2 separate regions of the Homo sapiens genome follow, and region 2 is linked to region 1. Evidence: promoter capture Hi-C in 16 types of primary human blood cells and fetal thymus (Javierre and others, 2016). All regions are on one chromosome and are shown on one strand. The core of a region is centred on a gene start or on the middle of the fragment in contact, and the rest is flanking DNA. Distances in the headings are between cores, read along the strand shown. Region 1 holds the start of GIMAP1 (GTPase, IMAP family member 1). Region 2 has its middle 15 kb from the start of GIMAP6.

Region 1 (5,087 bases), core at 1,731-4,230:
AGACACTTCTCAAAAGAAGACATTTATGTGACAAACATATAAAAAAAACCTCATCATCACTGGTCATTAGAGAAATGCAAATCAAAACCACAATGAGATACCGTCTCACACCAGTTAGAGTGGCGATCATTAAAAAGTCAGGAAACAGATGCTGGAGAGGATGTGGAGAAATAGGAATGCTTTTACACTGTTGGTGGGAGTGTAAAGTAGTTCAACCATTGTGGAAAACAGTGTGGCAATTCCTCAAGGATCTAAAACCAGAAATACCATTTGACCCAGCAATCCCATTACTGGGTATATACCCAAAGGATTATAAATTATTCTGCTATAAAGACACATGCATATATATGTTTATTACAGCACTGTTCACAATAGCAAAGACTTGGAACCAACCCAAATGCCCATCAGTGATAGACTGGATAAAGAAAGTGTGGCCCATATATACCATGGAATACTATGCAGCCATAAAAAGTATGAGTTCATGTCCTTTGTAGGGACATGGATGAAGCTGGAAACCATCATTCTCAGGAAACTAACACAGGAACAGAAAACCGAACACTGCATGTTCTCACTCATAAGTGGGAGTTGAACAATGAGAACACATGGACACAGGGAGGGGAACATCACACATGGGGGCCTGTCGGGGGTTGGGGAGGCAAGTGGAGGGAGAGCATTGGGACAAATACCTTAAAACCTAGATGACAGGTTGATGGGTGCAGCAGACCACCATGGCAAATGTATACCTATGTAACAAACCTGCATGTTCTGCACATGTATCCCAGAATGTAAAGTACATTAAATAAAAATTTTTAAGTATGCAGCTCCTTCCCATTCTCTCTTGCTCCTACTCCAGCCATGAGATGTGTGTGCTTCCCCTCTGGCTTCTGCCATGATTGTAAGTTTCCTGAGGCCTCCCCAGAAGCCAAGGAGATGCCAGCATCATGCTCCCTGTACAGGCTGTGGAACCGTGAGCCAATTAAATCTCTTTTCTTTATAAATTACCCAATCTCGGGTATTTCTTTAAAGCAGCGTGAGGACGGACTAATACATTTTCTTCACTGCATTTATAAGGATACGGAAGAAAACAATGAACATGCAAAGACTGGAAAGAGAGGAAGGAAGCATTAATACAGGGTACAAAAGGAAGCCGGAGTTCTAGATATAATTCTGAGACTCAAGTGTAGTCAGGGTCTGAGCTTCACCTGGGTTTCCACAACTGATAGTAAGTATCAATGAATAATAATAGGCAACAAAGCCCAGAGACAGTGAGACATAATCAAGAGCTAATAGAAATGTAGAGGAAAATAAAGACAGAAACGGTTACTTTTCAATAGGAAGAAGATCCCAGAAAGCACCAGTAGGAAAGTGGAAATGTGGGACGGGAAGGGATAGTAGCCAATGCAAGTTGCATTAATGAGCACATTACCACTGTATACGGTGATGAGGATGTTCCCACTGCAGACAACTGGGTCTCAGTCCTGCTGGGGACTCAGCAATTTGTATGCAGTACATCACAGAGTTGTCTCACGTGGTGGACAACTTGATAAGTTGTGGTGTTTATCCATAAGTCCTAACTGACATTGATTGAAATCTGCTCCTAGGATATCAGCTCTGACAACTTCAGGCTGCTGCATGCATTACCTACATATACTTTTGTAGTCAGATAAACCCTCTGACAGAGAGTTATGAGTGGCTGAAGTAAGACATCATACACATGCATGGAAACAATAAATGGCCCGGAGCTGTTGAAGAGGCTCTGAAAGCGTCTTTATGAAAGGTACACGTCAAGTATCAAAGACTTATTCAAAGCTGATCTATGTGGCTTGGGCTAGGATGAGGCTAGTGAGAAGCCCTAGGCACCTCACTCTTAAGAAAACACTCACTCCCAGGGTCACCCACCTACAAGATCTGCACTTGGGTGACCTGAGAGTGAGTGCCTCCTTAAGCTGTGTGCTCTAGATGCCCCACCTGCCTCACAATAGCCCCAGCCCTGCCGGTCTACTGGGAGAATGACAGGCTCCCTGTTTCAGCAATGATGAATGGAAACAGTGGACATGTCAGATATCCAGGAGACTCTGTGCCCCCAAAAAGATGGGAAACAGTAAAAGCTGGGTCTCTTCCCTACCAGAAAAAAAGTGGTCTGGCATGAAAGAGGTTAAAAAGCAGATCCTATCCAGTAGGGTAAGACTCGGGTTATTGTCTTCCCCATATACTCCAGAAAGCCAACTCCAGAAAGTTTAAATGAGTTAGGTGAGGTCCTATAGCTGGTTAATGACCTAACCAGATATGCAGCCTGCTCCTCTGTAGCCTTCTTACCACCCAGTGATTCGCTTTTTTGCTGACCTCATGATGCTCTTGAGAGAAGATAGAATAACTAGAACTGGTGATACCAACATAGACGACTAGACTAAAGCCTCCTAATAAGGCTAAATTGAAGATAGTGCGAAGGTGTTCATCCTCAACATACCAGTTCACCCTCAAGTCCTTCAATAGCTGGGAAAGCCCTCCTCTCTCAGAGAATGATAAGACTTTGCCTTCAGGTTTTTCTGGCAGACTGGATCTGGGGCTGGCACTGGCCACATGAATGTCTAATTAATGGACAGATGATGAGAACAGCTATTACGTTATTTGTTCCGGGGCAGGAGACTCTCTGGGCCTATTTTATATGGGGAAATGTCCCTATAGGGCAAAGGCAACTGAAGATTAGCTCAGTAATCAATTTTAGAAGTACAGTCAGGCCTCAGAGACTACAACATCCCTCCCTTCTTAGAGCATGGCAAGATATTTGACATCATGAGGCCCTGCTGGAGACACATAACCTCAGTCACAGCAGAAAGTAGAGTCGGTAGGAGAAGTATTGCCAACCCACAGCTCAATGGGAAATGTTTCTGTCTCTTTAAACCATAACCATGGGGCCCACCCTGAGCTTCCTGATTTCTGAAGTCTGAGTGATTTCCTCCGTGTGCCGAGAGGAAACAGCCTTCTGCACTCACAGCCGAAGGGAAAGCAGCAGGTTGGGGCTTCTTGTGGCCAACTTCAGAGCCTGTCACCAGGAAAGGTGAGCCTGAGCCTGGGAGTGGCGGGGGCTGGGGGTGCTCTGAGAACCAGAAAGAACATGATTCCTAGAGTGTTTACTGCCTGAACACTTGCATTCTACAAGGCATCATGCAGGCGAGCAAGATCTGGAACAATCAAGGACATACTTCCAGGTTTTTAAGTAGGCAAAGTTCAGAGGAAATTTTAGGATCATCTTCTCCAGCTCTGGAGCACACACGTTCTTGGTGGGGAGTGAAATCTGTCTCCTCCCACATTCCCTTAACAAAGTAAGAAAAGAGTGTGCTGGAACCACCTCCAGGAATAAAATACAGTTTGAAAGGCATTAAACATTCCTCAAGCTCCCTATTGAGCAAAGGCAAAAGATATTTCTATGGCCCCATAAGCCATCTAACCTCGGAGTGAGTTACGACGTGACAAGACTGGGTACATTTGAACTCTCCTCCTCACTGTCCACAGAAGGGGCCCCTGAGGAGACATCTGAGATTAATATCTTGGTCTTCAACCCCTTTCCCTGCATGGCCCCTTAAACATCTGCTCCCTTAATTCAAGCTTCTCCTGCTCCAGCCACGGGGACACCTCAAATTCCCATCTGTACAATAAAGGGGGTTGCAAAAATGACTGATGTCCAAGTTCTGAGCTGTGGACATCAGAAACATTTAATTCATGAATCAGAATCTCAGGATGGATCCAAGAGATGTACATTTTTAAAGAACATTCAAGTAATTCTGAGAAGCAGCACATTTGAGCGGTGAAGAACTCAATAAACTTTGCGGTCTCTTAAAGTGTTAGGAATACAGGATTCTATAAGTGTACATTCCTCAATGATTAAGGGCCATTTGTCACCTCAGAGTTCAGCTGGGTCTTACTTTCCTTTAAAAAAAAAAACTATTTAAAATCATTTCAACCCCTCTTCTAAACTATGGAAAATTCCAAAGGCCTATCCAGAATTCTGCAGCACTGGAAAAAGAAATTCTCATTTTCTTGGTTGACAAGGACATTTTGCTTCATCTAAATTCTTTTCTCTGAATCTTGCAACTGTTTCTTCATTTCTGCTTTGATGTCATTTATGATCATCTGTTCATTCCTACATGCAAAATAATTAATCACATAAGGCCCATGGAGTGAATTTTATTGAAGGCTTTGGGGAGGGCCAGTAGAGTTCCTGCAGAAACAGAAACAGCTCTAGATTTAATATGAGGCAAATCTGTTCTCCAAGTCCTTCAATCAAAGACAAGTTACTCAGCCAGCCTCTCTCTCTGCCCCTCCTTCATGTGTGGTGCCAATGGGAGAGAACACAGGTATCCAAGTGACCAGGGTGCAAGACACAACAAGTTTGACATGGATGGTGAGGCACAGACAGATGGTCGGGGAGGATCAATAGTCCTAGGAGGGGAAGCCGAGTGGGTTGGAAAGGCCCTGAAATCTGCTGATTGTGAAGTAGCTGACCGAGTGGGGTATTGTCTGGGAATGAGGCTGGAGACATAGATGCAGGGAGAAGTGAATTTGTGTTCAGGAGCTTGTGTGATTAGGCAAACTGGATCACAGAGGGTTTAGCTGTATTACACAATGTTAGATTTCAGCATAATCACATTTGGAGGGGAAGCAACTTCAGGAGTTGAAGGGAAGTGTTCAAGTCTCTCCAGCACAGATATCGTATTTAGACATCTCTAAACAAACCAAATTATTTGATTTTAAGAAAACAGAGTTAGGGGCCCTCCAGATCTACTTGGGAGATCTGTTCAATTTCCAAAAGAAAAATCCCAATTTTCTTCTTTCTTCCCAGGTCAGCCACTTGAAGGTGGGTGCCTAAGTCACTGGGCACATTTTCTGGTTCTGAGGGTTTACCTAATCTTCCCCCAGCTGCTGAATCCCCTGATATCTCTAGCTTATGTCAGTGATATAGAATCACCCAGGGAAAAGTAATACCTAAAGCCCATTGGCATTGAGTAAATGTTATAACCGACCCTCTGCTTTTTGCTTTTGGAGTTCCTGAAAAGACAAATCTAGCCTCACCCAATGTTCTCACAGCA
Region 2 (5,310 bases), core at 614-3,113, 100 kb before region 1:
TTTGCTTTCACTTTGTCCCATTGTTACCCTGTTTCTTCCAAGTGCTCAGCTTTCCTGACGAGCTTCTTTCAGTGGTCCTCAGGTGTCCTTTGACGATGCATCCTCCACTTTCACATGCTCTAGCATTCCTTCACTGGGGTATTTGTCACCCCAAGTTGGGCAGCCAGGAATGTTGGGGTGATTGGACCCAACACCAGGTGGTGGGGGTGACAAAATCTGGTGGAGTCAAAGGAATGAGTAAAGACAGTTTGAGAGAGAAAGTGGGCCCAGGGCGCCAATGTGAGTAATGGAGGCTGTGAAGGCCCTGAGCTCTGGAAGCCCAGACTATTTATTGGTGATCAAACAAAGAAACAGGTGGTGAGAATGTGGGGTTGAAAGGGAACATTGCATTAAGCACATGATTTACAGCTATGACAGTTTAGCATATGCTCTGCTACTTGAGATAATGGAGAGAAGGTTCTTTTAACTCAAGATACAATCGATCCTGGCAGAGCAAGGAGCAAGGAGCCAGCAAGTCTAGACACATTCCAGAGGCCATGAGGGGTTTTATGTCCTGCGCTTACATTATGGTGCATCAGGGTAGGCTTCCACCCTTTAGCACAGAGCTTGGTGTTCCAAAGGCCAAGAGAGGTTTTAGACCCCGGACCCTGGACAGGTTCCAAGACTCTTTTACATTGTGTCAGACATGTAAGCCCTGCCTCAGCTTCTCCCAACACTCAGCTTTTCCCAACACCATGGAGGGTGAGCGTCACCTCACCTAGGACGTCCAAGCAGCCAGGGGCCTCCCTCCCACAGCCAAGGGAAGTTGTGAGGGACTGTGCTATTTGGCCCAGATAGAACTACACATTTCCCATGGTTTTTGCAATCCACAGACCAGGAGATTCCCTCGTGTGCCTACACCACCAGGGCCCTGGGTTTCCAGCACAAAACTGGGTGACTATTTGGGCAGACACAGAGCTAGCTGCAGGAGTGTTTTTTCACACCCCAGTGGCACCTGGAACCCCAGTGAGACAGAATGGTTCACTCCCCTTTAGAGAGGGCTGAAGCCAGGGAGCCAAGTGGTCTCGCTCAGCAGGTCCCAATCCCTTGGAGAACAGCAGGCTAAAAGCCACTGGCTTGAAATTCTCACTGCCAGCCCAGCAATCTGAAGTTGACCTGGGATGATGGAACTTGCTGGGGGGAGGGGCGTCCGCCATTACTGAGGCTTGAGTAGGCAGTTTTCCTCTGACAGTGAAAATACAGTCATGTATCCCTTAACAGGGATACCTTCTGAGAAATGCATTATTAAGTGGTTTCATTGTTGTGTGAAATCATAAAGCATACATACACAAATGTACATGGTACTGCCTACTACACACCGAGGCTACATAGCCTACTGTTGGGTATAGCCTATTGCTCCTAGGCCACAAATCTGTACAGAATGTTGCTGTACTGAATACTGCAGACAATTGTAACACAGTGGTAAGTATTTGTATATCTAAACACACATAAACACAGAAAATGCACAGTATAAAATATGGTATAAAAGATAAAAAATTGTATACCTGTATAGGGCACTTACCATAAATGGAGCTTGAAGGACTGAAAGTTCCTCTGGATGAGTCAGTGAGTGACAGGTGAGTGAATGTGAGGGCCTAGGACATTAGTGTACCCTACTGTAGACTTTATAAACACTGTACATGTAGACTATATTAAATTTATAAAAGATATTTTCTTTTTTCAATTTATTTTATTTTGTTTTTTATTATAGTTTAAGTTCTGGGATACATGTGCAGAACGTGCAGGTTTGTTACATAGGTATACATGTGCCATGGTGCACCTATCAACCCGTCATCTATGTTTTAATAATATTCATTGTGCTATAAATTTCCCTCAACACTGCTTTAGCTGTGTCCCAGAGATTCTGGTACATTGTCTCTTTGTTCTTATTGGATTCAAAGAACTTCTTTACTTCTACCTTAATTTTGTTATTTACCCAGTAGTCATTCAGGAGCAGGTTGTTCGGTTTCCATGTTGTTGTGCAGTTTTGAGTGAGTTTCTTAATCCTGAGTTCTATTTTGATTGCACTGTGGTCTGAAAGATTGTTTGTTATGATTTCTGTTCTCTTGCATTTGCTGAGGAGTGTTTTACTTCCAACTATGTGGTCGATTTTAGAATAAGTGCTATGTGGTGCTGAGAAGAATGTATATTCTATAGATTTGGGGTGGAGAGTCCTTTAGATGTCTATTAGGCCTGCTTGTCCAGAGCTGAGTTCAAGTCCTGGATATCCTTGTTAATTTTCTGTCTCATTGATCTGTCCAACCTGTATTGGGTGCATATATATTTAGGATAATTAGCTCTTTTTGTTGCATTGATCCATCTACCATTATGTAATGCCCTTCTTTGTCTTTATTTATCTTTGTTGGTTTAAAGTCTGTTTCATCAGAGAATAGAATCGCAACCCCTGCTTTTCTTTTTTTTTTTTTTTTTTTTTTTGCTTTTCATTGGCTTGGGAAATATTCCTCCATCCCTTTATTTTGAGTCTATGTGTGTCTTTGCACTTAAGATGGGTCTCCTGAATACAGCACATTGATAGGTCTTGACTCGTTATTCAGTTTGCCAGTCTGTGTCTTTTAATTGGGGCATTTAGCCCATTTACATTTAAGATTTTAAGCCCCGCATGCTTTAGGTATTTCTTCTAATGCTATCCCTCCCCTTGCCCTGCACCCCCTTACAGGCCCCAGTGTGTGATGTTCCCCTCCCTGTGTCCATGTGTTCTCATTGCTCAACTCTCATTTATGAGTGAGAACATGCAGTGTTTGGTTTTCTGTTCTTGCATTAGTTTGCTGAAAATGATGGTTTCCAGCTTCATCCATGTCCCTGCAAAGGACATGAACTCATCCATTTTTATGGCTGCATAGTATTCCATAGTGTATATGGGCCATGTTTTCTTTATCCTGTCTATCACTGATGGGCATTTGGGTTGGTTTCAAGTCTTTGGTATTGTAAATAGTGCTGCAATAAACATACATGTGCATGTGTCTTTATAGTAGAATGATTTATAATCCTTTGGATATATACCCAGTAATGGGATTGCTGGGTCAAATGGTATTTCTGGTTCTAGATCCTTGAGGAATCACCACACTGTCTTCCACAACGGTTGAACTAATTTATACTCCCACCAACAGTGTAAAAGCATTCTTATTTCTTCACATCCTCACCAGCATCTGTTGTTTCCTGACTTTTTAATGATCACCATTCTAACTGGTGTAAGATGGTATCTCATTGTGATTTTGATTTGCATTTCTCTAATGACCAGTGATGATGAGCTTTTTTTCATATGTTTGTTGGCTGCATAAATGTCTCGTTTTGAAATGTATCTGTTCATATCCTTCACCCACTTTTTGATGGGGTTGTTTGTTTTTTTCCTGTAAATTTGTTTAAGTCTCTTGTAGATTCTGCATATTAGCCCTTTGTCAGATGGATAGATTGCAAAAATTTTCTCCCATTCTGTAGGTTGCCTGTTCACTCTGATGATAGTTTCTTTTGTTGAGTAGAAGCTCTTTAGTTTAATTAGATCCAATTTGTCAATTTTGGCTTTTGTTGCCATTGCTTTTGGTGTTTTAGTCATGAAGTCTTTGCCCATGCCTATGTCCTGAATGGTATTAATAGCCTAGGTTTTCTTCTAGTGTTTTTATGGTTTTAGGTCTTATGTTTAAGTCTAATTCATCTTGAGTTAATTTTTGTATAAGGTGTAAGGAAGGGGTCCATTTTCAATTAAATTAAACTTAGGTTACTGTAACCTTTTTATTTTCTAAACTTTTTATTTAAATTTTTAGCTCTTGTAATAACACAATTTAAAACACAAACACATTGAACAACTGCACAAAAAATTTTAAAATATTCTTATTCTATAAGCTTTTGTCTTTTTCTACTTTTCAAACTTTTTGTTAAAAACTAAGGCACAAACACACACATTAGCTTAGGCCTACACATGGTCAGGATCATGAATTTCATTGTCTTCCACCTCCATACCTTTTCCCGCTGGAAGTTCTTCAGGGGCAATGGCACACATTGAACTGCCATCGTCTGTGATAACAATGACTTATTCTGGAATAGCTCCTGAAGAACCTGCCTGAGGGGCTATTTACAATTAACTTTTTTTATAAGTAGAAGGAGTATACTCTAAAACAATGATTTAAAATATAGTAAATACATAAACCAGTAACATAGTCATTTATTATTACAATCAAGTATTATGTACTGTAAATAATTGTATGTTCTATATGACTGGCAGCTTTTCACACCAATGTCACCACAAACATGTGAATAATGTGTTGCACTATGACATTCAATAGCTACTAGGTGATAGGAATTTTTTAGTCTCATGATAACCTTATGAAGCCACTGTAGTATATGCAGCCCTTAATTGATCAAAATGACACGATGCAGTGCATGACTATACCCAATTAAATGTAGTAATTTTAATATTATTTCTAATAATATTAACCATAGGTAGAATAAAATTACATACAAATAACATACACATATGTAGACGTATATAAATATACGAACAGATGCAAATAGAGTCGTGGCATCTGTTCTAAAGGTTTAGTCATGTATCAGGCACAATAATGTAAAACTCATTAGTTGGGTTCAAACTATGTTCTTGACAGTTAAAGTTACCTGTTCAGATGGCTCAAGACTTTAATTAATATTTGTGGAAAGGGCATAAAATGTTTTCTATTTGTCTGTTTATTTCTAAAAGTTTCCTCTTTTTTTCCCTACTTGTGAATGATTTCTCTGATGCTTGCATTTAGAAGATTTAGACATCTCAAAGGCACAGAGGAAGGATGTTATGTTTTCTCCAGGAGTTTTGGGACATATTTGCCTATTATCAGAAGTCAATCTTATTGAGACTGCAGATTACATTTTACGTGAGTGACTGAGGAGACATCCAGTGTATTTCCAATTAGTCTTTCTTCTTTTTATTCTTAGGTGGATGCTTTTACCATAGCTTGGGAGTGTGTATGAGACCAAAAGTTAAATTTAGTTGTTCTACATACCCCTGACTCATTTGAAGATCTAATTTTTTAAGGAAGTTGGTATTGATGAGGTTCAGATGGAAAAGACAAGAGATCAAAGAGGTTAGTAGGTTCAGAATAGTTTTCTATTAGCACACTGCAAAGATTTCCTTAAAGGGCAATTTTCTGAGTCATTCTGTCTTTTGGAATCCTTTGTACACAAATCAAAAAATGTATCTCATTGTATTTGAGCCATTTGGGATTTCCCCGCCCCGCCCTTTTTTTCCTAATGTACTCATAGATAAAA

The links. The method cuts DNA at HindIII sites, captures the fragments that hold promoters and counts their contacts. A CHiCAGO score of 5 or more calls a contact.
Region 2: a fragment that was not itself captured here is called in contact with the fragment with the promoter of GIMAP1 in region 1 in 4 of 17 cell types (activated CD4 T cells, naive CD8 T cells, non-activated CD4 T cells and 1 more); the score reaches 6.7 in activated CD4 T cells.

The regions. Positions count from the first base shown.
Region 1 is chr7:150,713,633-150,718,719 of GRCh38, forward strand. It overlaps GIMAP1 (GTPase, IMAP family member 1), which reads left to right and starts at 2,981. Exons shown (of 3, transcript NM_130759.4): 1 at 2,981-3,058. GIMAP1-GIMAP5 (GIMAP1-GIMAP5 readthrough) reads left to right here and starts at 2,981. Exons shown (of 5, transcript NM_001303630.2): 1 at 2,981-3,058. The HindIII fragment of the contact is 9,233 bases long and covers 1-3,604 here.
Region 2 is chr7:150,615,005-150,620,314 of GRCh38, forward strand. No RefSeq gene overlaps it. Among named protein-coding and RNA genes, the nearest start is that of GIMAP6, 15 kb to the right of the region's middle. The HindIII fragment of the contact is 4,063 bases long and covers 1-3,895 here.